Linked DNA regions of Homo sapiens: region 2 is linked to region 1. The links are contacts of gene promoters, found by promoter capture Hi-C in blood cells and fetal thymus (Javierre and others, 2016). All regions are on one chromosome and are shown on one strand. The core of a region is centred on a gene start or on the middle of the fragment in contact, and the rest is flanking DNA. Distances in the headings are between cores, read along the strand shown. Region 1 holds the start of ZNF605 (zinc finger protein 605). Region 2 overlaps ZNF10 (zinc finger protein 10).

Region 1 (7,613 bases), core at 3,350-5,849:
AGGTTGCAGGAAGCTGACGTGCATTTTTTGTATCAGCCGAGGATCTGGTGATAGCTGGCCACAGGAAGATTGTGAGTTATGACAGCTCTGTGTCCTGGACCATTAAGAAAGGCAGACTTACAGCTTATCTGCTTTCTCTTATTTCGTATTTTGCTTTCCCCTGCTCCCACTACCCTGTCTCTTTTTCCCTAATTAGGACTCCACATTAATACATATTAATTTACAAAAGATAAGTGATTGTATGGGGAGGAGGAAAAAAGAAGTCAAGTCTTGGCAAGGCAGTTTGGAGAAGGAGGGATAAAGAGATGCAGAAGCAGAAGGGTGAGAAGTTTTGGCAGTTTCCTTTTTTAATATATCAATAGTTCTAAAGAGTTTAATTTTTTCTGTAGGGAAAGAAATTTTCAGTCTCTTTTAGATGCTTTTTAGTATTATTGAAAGTAACTTTCAATTTTTTAAAAATTTTAGACTCAGTTTTTAAAAATTATGCACGTAAATAAACTAATTAAGGTATTTTTAATGTCATTTCATTTTGGTCTTTGTAGTTTGGGGTCTTTATGGGTTAAATAAGACCATTTTAAAAGATATTGACAGGAGGTCGCATCATAAGTACTATATATGAATTTAGCTGGAGTTACTTAAAGGTATATATATATTTTTTTTTTTGAGATGGAGTTTCGCTCTTTTGCCCAGACTGGAATACGGTGGCACAATTTCAGCTCACTGCAACCTCCACCTTTCTGTTTCAAGCAATTCTCTTGCCTCAGACTCCCAAGTAGCTGGGATTACAGGCGCCGGCCACCATGCCCAGCTAATTTTTGTATTTTTAGTAGAGACGGGGTTTCACCATGTTGGACAGGCTGGTCTCGAACTCCTGACCTTGTGCTCCACCCACCTCAGCCTCCCAAAGCACTGAGATTACCGGCGTGAGGCACTGCATCCAGCCATTAAAGGTGTATTTCTTTTGAAGGGGAAAGACTCAGTTTTAGATGGATGAATGTCCATAATTTGGGGTTTTTGTTTTAAAGATCAAAGACTGAAAGGGAAAGAGTTGTTGGATCTGGTATGCTGCTTAATAAGGATTATTTATTGAAGAGTCACTTTTCAATAGATGTCTTGGTGAAACCCAGTAATTTTGGGCACTTAGGGCACTAGGAGATTTTTGTATTTTTTTTGTTGAGGGGAGTCTTATGGGTCCAACGTATGTCATGAACGATGAGCTTAAAGTTTCACAAAACCTAAGTCACTAAATTATCTTGTGGCTGGGAGAAAGAGTGTCTTATCTTTAAGACTTATCTCTGTCTTTATACAAAGTTTTTTTTACTGGCTTTGGTCATTTAAAATGGGACTTCAGATGTGCCAAATGAACTGAACTTAAGAGTTTAGCCAGTTTTTTTTTTTTTTAAACTTACAAGTTTTACTTAAGCCATGGAATTTTTTTTTAGAGAGAGAAACTGTTTTCTTTCCTGACCAAAATTGGAATGAAAGAAAAGGCCATGGCCATGCTCAGTGGCTCATGCCTGTAATCCCAGCACTTTGGGAGGCCAAGACAGGCGGATCACCTGAGGTCATGAGTTCGACACCAGCCTGGCCAACATGGTGAAGCCTCGTCTCTACAAAAATACAAAAAATTAGCCAGGCATGATGGTGGGTGCCTGTAATCCCAGCTACTCGGGGGGCAGAGGCGGGAGAATTGCTTCAACCCAGGAGGCAGAGGTAGCAGTGAACTGAGATCGCGCCACTGCACTCCAGCCTGGGTGACAGAGCAAGACTCCATCTCAAAAAAAAAAAAAAAAAAAAGGCGTATAAATTCTAGTAAGTCATTTAATAAATGACACGCTTAACCTCGGAGAAAAGTGAAAATCATAAATCTGTGAACAGCAAAATTTTCTGAGAACAAAAACAAAACTACCTTAAAGCAGAATTTTAATTTTAGCTCTGTTGAGCATGGAATTGGTTTGCTTAAATAAAGTTGAATCTCAGTTAGAAGCAGGGCAATGTGGGCTGGGTACGGTGGCTCAGGTCTGTAATCCCAGCACTTTGGGAGTCCGAGACGCATGGATCACCAGAGGTCAGGAGTTTGAGACCAGCCTTGCCAACATGGTGAAACCCATCTCTACTAAAAATACAAAAAGTAGCTGGGAGTGGCTGGGCGCAGTGGCTCACGCCTGTAATCCCAGCACTTCGGGAGGCCGAGGCAGGCGGATCACGAGGTTAAGAGATCAAGATCAGCCTGACCAACATGGTGAAACCACGTCTCTACTAAAAATACAAAAATTAGCCGGGCGTGGTGGCGCACGCCTGCAATCCCAGCTACTCGGGAGGCTGAGGCAGGAGAATCACTTGAACTCAGGAGGCGGAGGCTGCAGTGAGCCGATATTGTGCCACTGCACTCCAGCCTGGGCGACAAGAGCAAAACTCCATCTCTCACAGGCTCCAAATTTACTAATATAGAATTGAGCAAAATATTATTTCATATATACTTTAATTTGGTCTTTATGGCCATTTCAATTTTTTAAATTGCCAATTGTGAGTGTGTTTCCTGTTTCTCCCCATTTTTATTTTAAAAAACTAATATGCTTTTACAGTTTTTCTTTTTCTTTTTTTTTTTTTTTAGACAGAATCTCACTCTGTCTCCCAGGGTGGAGTGCAGTGGTGAGATCTCAGCTCACTGCAACCTCTGCCTCCTGGGTTCAAGCAATTCTCATGCCTCCACCTCCTGAGTAGGTGGGATTACAGGTATGAGCCATTACAGGCATGAGCCACCACACCTGGCTAATTTTTATATTTTTAGTACAGATGGGGTTTCACCATGTTGGTCAGGCTGGTCTCGAACTCCTGACCTCAGGTGATCCGCCCGCCTTAGCCTCCCAAAGTGCTGGGATTACAGGTGTGAGCCACCGCGCCTGGCCTGGCCAAAAAATATTTTTAAGAGAAGGTGTCTCCCTCTGTGGCCCAGGCTGGAGTGCAGTGTTGCCATCATAGCTCACTGCAGCCTCAACCTCCCAGGCTCAGGCAATCCTCCTGCCTCAGCCTCCAGTAGTTGGGACTACAGGGACAAGCCACTGCTTTATATATCCATAAATATATTTTATTTCCCTGTAATGTCCTCATCTCATTTATTTTTCCTTTTTTTTTTCTTGAGATGAGGTCTCACTCTGTTGCCAGGCTAGAGTGCAGCGGCATGATGGCTCACCGCAACCCCCGCCTCCCGAGTTCAAGTGATTCTCCTGCCTCAGCCTCCCGAGTAGATGGGATTACAGGCGCCCACCACCACGCCCAGCTAATGTTCTGTATTTTTAGTAGAGACGGGGTTTCACCGTGTTGGCCAGGATGGTCTCAATCTCCTGACCTGGTGATCCGCCCACCTCAGCCTCCCAAAGTGCTGGGATTACAGCCGTGAGCCACCGCGCCCAACCCTATCATCTATTTTCATTCCTTTTGTCAATACTGCTGGATTGGATGTACTAAATGTAAGGTCCTCTGAGCTGGCCGCACCATGGTCAAGCCATCGTGACATTCCCCCACCCTTGTGATAATGTACTTTGTAATATTCCCGGTCCTTGTGAATGTACTTTGTAACATTCCTCTCCGCCCTTGTGACAATACACCCTCCCCGCCCTTGTGAATGTACTTTGTAACATCCTCCCCTGCCCGCAAAAAATTGCTGCTGAGGCCGGGCGCGGTGGCTCACGCCCGTAATCCCAGCACTTTGGGAGGCCGAGGAGGGCGGATCACGAGGTCAGGAGATCAAGACCATCCTGGCTAACACAGTGAAACCCCGTCTCTACTAAAAATACAAAAAAATTAGCCGGGCGTGGTGGCGGGTGCCTGTAGTCCCAGCTACTCAGGAGGATGAGGCAGGAGAATGGCGTGAACCCGGGAGGCGGAGCTTGCAGTGAGCCGAGATCGCGCCACTGCACTCCAGCCTCGGCGACAGAGTGAGACTCTGTCTCAAAAAAAAAAAAAAAAAAAAAAATTGCTGCTGACTCCACCGCCTATCCTATCCCAAAGCTATAAGAACCAATGACAAGCCCACCACCCTCCGCTGACTCCTTTCTCAGACTCAGCCCACTTGCACCCAAGTGAATAAACAGGCGTGTTGCTCACACTTAGCCTGCTCAGGTGGTCTCCTATACGGACGCACGTAACACTAACATTTACCGATATTACTTACAGCTACGATGAAAAATGGAAAAGCAGCCGGACGCAGTGACTCATGCCTGTAATTCCAGCATTTTGGGAGGCTGGGGCAGGAGGATCATTTGAACCCAGGAGTCGGAGACCAGCCTGAGGCTGCAATGAGCGTTCATGGCACCACTGCACTCCCCACTGGGTGACAGAGCGAGACCCTGCCTCCAAAAAAAAAAAAAAAAAAAACAAGGAAAAGATGCAGACGCTTCCTCCTGGAGGCGCCTTTAGGTTCTCTCACAGACATGTTGGGCCAGCAGTGCTGGCTCCATCCTAGATTTCTTCCAGTCCTCCCCAGTTAGCCGCCAAGGGGCTTTTCCAACCGGAAACCTCCAATCCGCGACCCCGGCGGGTGCACCGCCGAGCCCCCCGGGAAGTGTAGTTCCAGCGCGAGCGGGACGCTGGGAAATGTAGTTCTGCGCGTTCACGTCCCCGATCGGGCCGTGTCCGCCGCGGCCCTGCGAGGTCCGAGGGGTAAGGGAGCGTGCAGCGGGGGCGGGACCACGAGGCGGCGGGGCTGGGGGCGGCCTCTGTGTCTGCGCCGGGGATCGCGGTGACCCCGCTGCGGACCGGCTCGCGGTGACCCCAGCGCGAACGAGCTGGCTGCCGGCTGGGGCGAGAAAGGCCTGCGGACCGGCCTGGGCGCATGCGCGGAAGGCGGGCCTCAGGCGGGGGCTCTGGGGGCGCGCGGGGGTGGGAGGCAGAGGGTGGGGTGGGGGCTGTAGGGCGGGCGGCGGCGGGGCGCTGAATGTGGGTGTCGGGGGAGATTTGGGGTCAGCTGGGCGATTCACTGGGGGCCTATGGAGGTCGCTGTAGACTTGGGGTGCAGCACGGGCGGGGCAAGGGGACGCGAGGTTGCCCTTGGCCCCAGGGGAGAGGGGCCCCTGGGAGGCCGTGTGGAGGATTTGTCTGCAGCGATTAGGACTCTGCTGATGAATGATTTGGATGCCTTTGGGTGAGCATTGGAGGCCAGCGGGGTGAATGATGAGGCTTCTGCGGGGGCCTGCGTTGGAGGGCTTAGGGGCTTGCTTGTGTGGGTTCCATTCACTGGAAAGCCTGCCGGCTGTGACAGTGTTGGATTTCACCAGAGCCCTGTGCTCCTGGAAAACAGCGAAGGTTGAGGAATTTCCCACCCTTTTGGGTTCCAGCAAATGGCTCACTGCAAAGATCTCCCGTTCCCTATATGACTTTGGTCAGCCTCCAGGATGCCCCTTGTTCACACAGACCTGCCACGTTGCCGTCGCTTGCCTCATCGGTGACTGGCTGAACTCCACCGAGCGGTCGGAGCAAAATGCTCCTTAAGCAAACTTTAGCTAAGCTTCTTTCCTTTCCCCATTTTCTTGAGCTTTGGCCCATCCCCAGCCTGAGCCAACACGCAGCCTCGCCTGAGAACAGGCTGGCTCAGGGTCAAGCTTTCCCCGCTCTGCTGTCTGGTCGCCCGCACTTCCACCTCGCTTGGCCAGGCCTGGTCTTTGCTAACCTTGTTCACACCTCTCTGTGAAAGAAAAACCCTTTTTGCCTTGCAGAGATGCACGTGAGTCTCGTGGCTTCACGGTTCTTCCCAGAAGCCCGTTCTCCTTCCCCTTCCCAACCCTCTTCCGCGTCTTTTTTTCCCCACTTCCAATAACCCTTTGGAACCGTCTTTCTTTGCTCTGTCCAGTTGTATGTTTTATTTGACAGCTGAATAACAGTGGTTGCTCTTTCAACCCCTGTCTCCAATAGCGGAGGCGAGTATGGGGTGGCCTATGCTGGCGAGTGGCTGGGGTTTGTTTCTGTGCTTGTGTTTGGGGATCTTATGATGGAAGCATTAGGAATGGCGCTGTGTATTTGTGACAAGGGAGTCTGGATGTAAGTTAATGGTGGACCTGTTGCAAGTTGTGAGTGCGTGGACAACGGGGGTCATACTTGGCGTCATTGGAGGGGCCTGCGGGATCGGCATTTGTGCAGAGCCCCACAATCCCTTTCCAGGTGGTGTTTGGGAGGGCCTGTGGGAATGTCAGTGAATGCTCCAGCATGGAGTGGATTAGAGAATGGGGTGTCATGGGGGCGAATGCTTGGGGGCCCCGGGGATAAGGGATTAGGGATCCCTGGGCATTGAGTGACTGGGGTCTAATTTAGGGGGTCTGTGGCGCAAGCCTCAGAATGTCAGTTACAGGGGAGGGGCTCTGTGAGCGCCTGACTTGGGCACCTGATGAAGTGAGTGAATGGAGACCAGTGTGTTCGTCCCAGGACAGAAGCCCCTTCTCCTCCCCTCCCCACCCTTCTCCTCCCCTCCCTACCCTTCTCCTCCCCCATCCTTCTCATCCCCTCCCCACCTCACCTGCAGGAGTGACTGAAGCCCCTTCTCCCCCGCTCCCCACCCTTCTCCTCCCCTCCCCAGCTCATCTGCAGGAGTATCTGAGTTCTGTGGGGATCCTTTGGGACTCAGAGTTTGGGGTTTCAGTCTGTGGTGATTCTTAAGTGGGGCTTTGGGGGTGCTGGTGATTATGGTGTCTGGCATCTGTATTTAAAAGCCCTGTGGGAGTCACTGAGGTCCAGTCATCAGTTGGGCCTGTAGGGATAACTCTGCCTGGCCTGTGAGGTCTATGGTGTGACGTAGGAATGGTAAGTGTCTGGGGGCCTGTGGAGGATTAGGAATAAAGGGTCCAGTGTACATCGTTGAATGGGGGACAGTTTTATTGGCTCGTGCCCTGGCATTGGCTTTGTTATTTGAGGGTGTTGGAACCAGGTGAGAAGGAGCTTGTTTGTATTAGTGACCGGGTACCAGAGATGACTGAATGACTGATGGGGTGGGCAGTGAGGTCTGTGAGGAGGAATGATCGGAGGGCTTGGGATCAATGCCAAGTATGCGTGCAAGTGTCTGTGATGGGTGTGCGGGTGGGTGAGGGTGAGAAATTGGGGACCCTGTGGGTGTCAGTGAGAGGGAAGCCTGGGGAGCCTAAGAGTTTGTTTGCCATTTGCGGTGAATGTGGAGTTAGAAGTTAGTGGCCTTAGCTGGGCACCGTGGCTCACACCTGTAATCCCAGCACTTTGGGAGGCTGAGGCAGGCAGATCAGGAGGTCAAGAGATCCACACCATCCTGGCCAACATGGTGAAACCCCGTCTCTACTAAAAATACAAAAATTAGCTGGGCATGGTGGTGGGCGCCTGTAATCCCACCTACTCAGGAGGCTGAGGCAGGAGAATTGCTTGAACCCAGGAGGCAGAGGTTGCAGTGAACCGAGATTTTGCCACTGCACTCCAGCCTGATGACAGAGTGAGACTCCATCTTAAAAAAGATAATAATAAGTTAGTGGCCTTTGGGTATCTGTGATTAGTGGTCTATACTGTGCCAGTCTGTGGAGTCTGTGGTCAGGTGTTTCTGGAGGCTGTTGTGGGGCCACTAGAGTTACCGCCTGGGGTCTTTGTTGGATGGTCACTGGGGA
Region 2 (7,613 bases), core at 2,090-4,589, 200 kb before region 1:
CTCAGAGAGAGATCAAGATCTCTGGTTGGCTTCAGCAATACTTCATCTATCATTCAACAATCAATCATTGAGCAGCTAATATTTATGCCAGAAAATGGAGAATCATGGTCAGTCCCTATATACAACAGACTGATTTATAGAATGAAAGAGAAAATTAAAATAGATCCTCTTCCTGAATCTTTTGTGGGTTATTAACTTACCAGAGAATCTGAAGACTGGGATCCTCTCCATAGAATGGAAAACCTTTGTACAAACAGAATAAATGTGTATACAACATTACAAGCTGTTTATTGATCCTCAGAAATGAAACCTATATCCACTATTTGTCAGTGATTTTCCCAGGCTGTTGAGTTCTGATTTAGGCAAAAGGGAAAAACCATGTATGACTGTAAGGGAAGTGAGAACTCAGTAAATTCTTATAAGCACACAAGCAGATTTCAATTAAATAACAGATATTAGGGTGCGGCAATATTATTAATAATCACAGCCAGTAACTACAGAGAACATAATATATGTCAGGCACTATTCTAAGCTGTTTCCATTTACTCATTTAATACTCACCATAATCCTACCAGGTAAGTACTATTATTATCGCTAATTTACAGATGAGGATATCAGTAAGTTTGGCACAGAGAAGCTAAGCAGCATGTTCAAGATCACCCAGCTAGTGGGGTTTCAACCTGGGTAGTCTAGCTCAAGTCTACGCTCTTAAACACTAATCTTTCTTTATAAAGATAAAAGACTACCTTGAGAAAGAGGGTATCTTTGGACTGTGCTCTGTTTATCACATGAGGACACTTGCTCTAAATATTGTTTAAATACTTGTTCCCACTAAAATGGGGACCCTCCCTGATATGTTCAAATGCCCAATGTTCCCCTAGGTCCTAACATCCAGAGAATTACTGTGTTTTTAAATTCTCAGGAGCTTTTGCAGTGCTAATAAGAGTGGAAAAAGTGGAACTCTGTGACCCAAAACAATTTAGAATAGGAAAGCTCATTAACAGGTGGTACTCAAAAGCTTCTTTGATGGTAGAATAGAGAAACTAGATATCCTCTTACAATATTTAAAAGTTTCTTAAAATAATTATTACAGCAACATTAAACAGACTATAAAACTCAGTCAAAATCTCCTTATCTAACAAATCAATTCTGTTCAATTATCTGTATACTTTCAATTCTTGCCCACATGCAAATGTACTTAAAAATGGGTTAGCACTGGTAGTGGAGATGTGTTGTTTTTAATTGTACTACATTATAAGCATTTTTCTTGCTGTTAACCAAAATATGGTTTCTACCAGACACATAAAACATACCAAACACTACTAAATGTCCCAGAAGAGAGACATAGTCAAGAAAACAATGACATATTGACTGAAATATTATTTTCCATCTTTTGTTGCATTAACTGTATCATTTCTTAATTCTCAGCAACAACTCTCCCTATAGTAGCATACTCATTTCTTTTCAAATGAAGGGGTTCTCGCTCAACAACTCACCTATTTAATAATTCCTTCTCAGATTCTAGCATTTAAGACTTGGTCAAGAATGCTCTCAGGCCAATTACTTCTGTAGGAATTCATGAAAAGAAGAAAATCTGATGGATTTGTGTACTGAAATAAAATCTGTGGTTTCTTTCCCTTCCAGGACCAATTCTCTAATGTGCAATAGGATAGTAACAAGACTGAAAGCATTTCCACATAGATTCAATTTGTACAGCTTATCTCCAGGAGTTCTCCAATGCAAAATAAAGTCATTGCTCTTTGTGAAAAATTCCCATATTTATTAGTAAGCATTTTCTCTAATATGATTTGTCTGGTATCCAATAAGGTTAGAGGTATTAACAAGCGCTGTCCCACATTGATTGCATGTTAAGAACTGCTCTCCAGTGTGAGCTATTTGATGAACTATAAATGGAGAGTTCTGGCTGAAGATAATGCCACATTGATTACATTTATAGGTCTCTTCTCCAACATGAATTCTCTGGTGCTTAATGAGGTCATTCTTCCGGATGAAGGCTTTCCCACACTGACAGCATTCATATGGTTTCTCTCCAGTGTGTATCCTCTGATGCACAATAAGGGCAGAACTCTGGCTGAAAGATTTTCCACAATCATGACACTCATATGGTTTCTCTCCAGTGTGGGTTCTTTGATGTGAATAAAGGTGAGAGCTTCGACTAAAACATTTTCCACAATCCTTACACTCAAAAGGTTTTAGTCCAGTGTGAATTCTATGATGCACAACAAGGTGAGATCTCTGGCTGTAAGACTTTCCACATTCATTGCATTCATAGGGCCTCACTCTCACATGGGTTCTCTGATGCAGAATGAGATGTGTGCTCTGTCTGAAAGATTTCCCACATTCAGGACATTCATAGGGTTTCTCTCCAGTATGTGTCCTCTGGTGTCTAATAAGCCTAGAGCTATGAACAAAAGATTTCCCACACTGATTACATGTGTACAGTTTGTCTCCTGTATGAGTTCTCTGATGAGTAACAAGGTGAGAGAACCAGCTGAAGGATTTTCCACATTCTTTACATTCATAGGGTTCCTCACCAGTATGGGTCTTTTGATGTCCAATGAGGTGAGAACTCCGGCTGAAAGACTTTCCACATTCTTTACACTCATAGGGTTTTTCTCCAGTATGAATAAGCTGATGCCTAGTAAGATTAGAGCGCCAGCTGAAGAATTTTCCACATTCCTTACATTCATAGGGTTTCTCTCTATGTATGCCCTTTGATATACCAAGAGATGAACCATGAGTAAGAGAGTTGTCATTATCAGGGCATTTGTAGGATTTATCACCTGTGTGAGTTCTTGCAAACTGAATAAGGTGAATGTTTTGACAGAAAGTTTGACCACATTCATTACTGTTACTTGCACAACTGTCCTGATGACCATTAAGAACTAAATCATGTTTTAAACTTTTAGTATGTGAGTCACGTTTATGGAAATACTCTCTCAGTACTAGCTGAGCAGGAAGAAGACAGTTTCCCCCATATTTACCACTTTCAGAGACTCTCTCCTGAGTAAGTACTTTCTTTTGGGTGAATGCCACTTGCCTCAAATGTCTCTCTGGGTTTTCCTGATACTTGTCTAACTGGTCTCTACATTTCCAGACTTCTTCTAATGACAAATACCAGAGATCATTCCTTGCCATTCCTTCCATTTTAATGTCACAGGATTGCTTATCTTTAAAAATGCTCCTGCTGGAAACTGATGATTTGATTTCAAATGCAGTCTCTGAATCTGAAAGAAATGAAAAATGTTTGTGTAACTAAACAGAGTATTAAGGTGAGAATGCTAGGATGTATGTGGAGACAAAGTATGCAAGATGTACACAGTTGCTTTCAAATATGGCTTTATAACTTTGATAGAGAATGAGAAAAGGAAGAATGGAGCGGTAAACAATAAATGCATTGTGGTATACAGTACTCACAAAGGGCAAAAGGAGTAAGGAGAAGCCACAGGACACAGCATGACACATGGGATCAGGGTATCAATGGTGAGGGTAGAAATAAGGGAAATTCCATAAAAAGGACTGCACTCTCATTTTCTAATCCAGATATTAACAGTCTAAGTTCCTCACCTGTCTACTTGTTGTCAGGACTTTCCCCTGACACACATTCTTCACATTACTATCAATTTAGTATTCTCTCTCTTTTTTTTTTTTTTGAGACAGTTTCGCTCTTGTTGTCCAGGCTGGAGTGCAATGACACAATCTTGGCTCAATGCAACCTCCGCCTCCCAGGTTCAAATGATTCTCCTGCCTCAGCCTCCCAAGTAGCTGGGATTACAGGCACCTGCCACCATGCCTGGTTAATTTTTAATATTTTTAGCAGAGACAGGGTTTCACTATGTTGGCCAGGCTGGTCTTGAACTCCTGACTTCAGGTGATCCACCCGCCTTAGCCTCCCAAAGTGCTGGGATTATAGGCGTGAGCCAGTGCGTCCGGCCCAATTTAGTATTCTTAAACCATGAATGCAGCCATACGTCAGGCAATGCTTTCTATCCAAATCACAGAAGCACTATAGAATAACACCCAGATGAGTGACACAACAGACCTCTCAGAGCAGCTACATGACAAGGTGGAAGAGTAACTGCACAAAAGTTACCAAGATGCAAGTTCTAAGTTTTATATTACGACTAGTGGTGAATTTAGACGAGTTGCTAAACTTTGAAGAATTCATTTTGCTTATCTGTAATCTAAGGATGACAGTATTTGTTATTTAAGATTATTATATTATATAAAGCATGAGCCTATTACAGTCTCTGGCACATTTATGGTCAAAGCAATAAGATTTACAATAATCATCATCATTCTTCTCATTTTTTTGATTTCTTCGCTCTGAAACATAAGGACTTAACAACTGATAGGACTACTACCACAAGATGTGAACTTAGAATCTGAAGCCTGACCCATACGCTCTTAGAATTTCTGCCATCTGCTACCTGTGTATATTACTGCAAATTATTTCTCTTGAATAAGAGCTTTATCTGTTTCTCAATGTCTTTCAGGTAAAACATATAATCCCAAACCTAAAAAATACACTGATGATACCACTTCATCTTACATAAGTGGGGTGACATTCCACTCTTACCTGGTATTATGGGTTAAACTGTATCCCCCCCGCCGACAAAAAGGTATGTTGAAGTTTTAATCCTCAGTATCTCAGAATATGACCATATTTGGAAATACAGTCTTTCCAGATGTAATTAGTTATGATGAGGTAGTACCAGAAATAGGATGGGCCCCTAATCCAGTATGAGGGTGGTCCTCCATAAAAAAGACACAGACACAGGGGAAGAGACCATGTGAACATGGAGACCAAGACTGGAATGATATATCCACAAGCCAAGGAACACCTGGGGCCAGCAGAGCCTGGAAGAGATAAGGAAAGACCCTCTCCTAGAAGCGTAGCAGAGCCCCACTGACATCTTCATTTTAGACTTAACAGCCTCCAGCTGTGACATGATACATTTTGGTTGTTTTGAGCCACCTAACTGCTGGTTCTTTGTTACCGCAGCCCCAGGAAACTAATACACCTGGTAAATGATCCCTGTGCCAGGCCTGGTCCCTAAATGACTTCCTTATACAATCCCACCCCGACCAGTCCTGTCCCTTACCACTTAGTTAGTTCCTAGTTTCTTCCCCATCCTGATGATTTTTAATAGGAAATACACCACCCTTTCCTCCCTTTCCCCAACCCAGAACATCAGAAAATCTTATGGAGAAGTTTTTCAACCTACAAATGCCAACTGGAAGATTCTATGAAGAATATCTATGATAAGGGGGGTGCTGAGCACTTATGGAGGACAATTCTGAGTGGAGAGTTTGGTCATAAGAATGAGGTGTTTTATTAATATCCTAAAATCTTCCACATATTATGTAATACAACCATGCCAGTAAGTTATTGTCGAAGTCTGTTGGACCCATCAATCAACTAATCATCTGATTTTTAAAAATCATCATTCATTATATTTTTTGATTTGATAATGAATTTAACAGCCTTGTAGATTCTGTAAAACTCCATGCCTTTAAGCCCATGAAGTCTGAGTATTTCTTTTGACAATAAATTCTCAATAAAAATATAAACTGCTGGGTCCAGTTAATAATTGTTATTTTTGGATACTTGTCAACAGACATTCAGGAAAGCTTACTAGATGAACAAAATAGAAAAGAAAGAAAGAAGGTAAGTAATAAAAAGAAAATATAACAATATTTCCTCCCATGGTCCCAAAGAAAGACTTGCTTTGAGATACCATTTTGATACAATCACCTACAAGGCAAATACTAAAAAGTAAAAAAGAGCTTATGATAATATTTCAAAGTAGAGATTTAAACTAAGTGGAAGTTCAGAAGAGGAAGAGGCCAATACTTAATGAGGAATCATAAAAGCCTTCATGGGAAAGAACTTGAGGCTAAATTACAGGACAAGTAAGACTCAGATTTAATTTACATCACACTCAAAGTCTGAGATGCAGGGAAATGCCTATAAATAAATTTTTAAAACATTAAATACAAAACTAGATAGAGGCTGGGCATGGTGGCTCACGCCTGTAATCCCAGCACTTTGGAAGGCCGAGGTGGGCGGATCACTTGAGGTCAGGAGTTCGAGACCAGCCTAGCCAACATGGTAAAACCCTATCTCTCCTAAAAATACAAAAATTAGCTGGGCGTGGTGGTGCATGCCTGTAATTCCTGGTTCTTTGGGAGGCTAAGGCGGAAGAATCGCTTAAACCTGGGAGGCGGAGGTTGCAGTGAGCCTAGATCGCGCCACTACACTCCAGCCTGGGAGACTGAGTGAAACTCCATCTCGAAAAGAAAAAAAGATCTAAAGTACAGTAGGAAAAACTGGTGTTTCTGTGAGCAGCCATTCTGGAAAGGAAGGAGAGTTGAGGCAACAGGAATTATGAGCTCTCTGCAGCAGTTTTCTACCTGGCAGAAAACAAACTCTCAGAAAAGAAGGTGATAAGAGTCCCACTCCAGAGCTTGCACAGAGAACTGAGTTGTGGGAAGGGGTCACATGAAAGAACAAAGAGAGGCAAAAATGCAAGAAGTGATTCTATGACAAACGAAAGCACAAGATGCTAGAGTGAGTGGTAACAATTAGGAGAGCGACACGTGCAAGCGCTGAAACCAAGCACGTCAACAGACAGAGAAACCTTTGCCTCTGAATGCAAATGGAATGTAAAGACTGGCAGTGGGGAAACAGGGGCCAGATAAACTCAGTCTTCCCAGGAAGAAGGGCCTGTGAGGAGGGCCAGTGACCACTATCTCTAGAAGTTCTGGCACCTCACAGCCCATCTGGGCTGCTGCCTATGACAACTCTTGACTGGTCCTCACCAGGATGGGTCTCTTGGTGAATTTCTCTCTCCACCAGCCAGGGCTCTTCTCCCTTCTCCAACCGGAGGATCACATCTGGCTTAGTAAGCTGATAACCTGTTCACAGTGAAAGACAAAGAACAGGGTAAGAGTCAGGGGAGCTCTGAGGTAGGCACGAAGAAACATCTCAGATTCAACCTGACCACCAACCCTCTGCAGGACTGGCAGGGACTCTAAAGTTGACAGAGGCAGGAAAACTTATTTTATTTTATTTATTTATTTTGAGATGGAGTCTCTCTCTGTTGCCAGGCTGGAGTGCAGTGGCATAATCTTGGCTCACTGCAACCTCCACTTCCGGGGTTCAAGTGATTCTCCTGCCTCAGCCTCCCAAGTAGCTGGGACTATAGGAGCACGCCACCACGCCCAGCTAATTTTTGTATTTTTAGTAGAGACGGGGTTTCACCATGTTGGTCAGGATGGTCTCAATCTCTTGACCTTGTGATCTGCTCACCTCGGCCTCCCAAAGTGCTGGAATTACAGGCGTGAGCCACCATGCCCAGCCAGAAAACTCCTTAAAGAGGCATTTTTAAAACTTCAATACATTAAAACAAGTTTTCCACAAAAGCTGGAGTAAAAAAACCCTGTTCTATGCCTCAAAGAAATTAGGTCTCTGAACGCCAAGCCTATACTCTGGTGTGATACATGCTTCAGGGTCTCTGTACCTTTTGATCAATGGAGAACCAAAATCTTCAAAAACAGAGCTAGTCTTACCCAAGGAAACCAGGTTC

Evidence for each region. Contacts are between HindIII fragments. The CHiCAGO score rates a contact against its expected background, and 5 or more counts as called.
Region 2: a fragment that was not itself captured here is called in contact with the fragment with the promoter of ZNF605 in region 1 in 9 of 17 cell types (M1 macrophages, M2 macrophages, naive CD8 T cells and 6 more); the score reaches 8.4 in M1 macrophages.

The regions. Positions count from the first base shown.
Region 1 is chr12:132,953,292-132,960,904 of GRCh38, reverse strand. It overlaps ZNF605 (zinc finger protein 605), which reads left to right and starts at 4,599. Exons shown (of 5, transcript NM_183238.4): 1 at 4,599-4,662. It overlaps LOC124903064 (a long non-coding RNA gene), which reads right to left and starts at 4,356. Exons shown (of 2, transcript XR_007063552.1): 1 at 4,175-4,356. RefSeq lists enhancers at 4,389-4,468, 4,222-5,050, 5,328-5,622, 5,051-5,881 and a silencer at 4,629-4,968. The HindIII fragment of the contact is 12,358 bases long and covers 1-5,508 here.
Region 2 is chr12:133,151,138-133,158,750 of GRCh38, reverse strand. ZNF10 (zinc finger protein 10) reads right to left here. Exons shown (of 5, transcript NM_015394.5): 3 at 7,597-7,613; 4 at 6,847-6,942; 5 at 1-3,248. The coding sequence ends at 1,783. Among named protein-coding and RNA genes, the nearest start is that of ZNF10, 24 kb to the right of the region's middle. RefSeq lists an enhancer at 2,343-3,542. The HindIII fragment of the contact is 4,637 bases long and covers 1,021-5,657 here.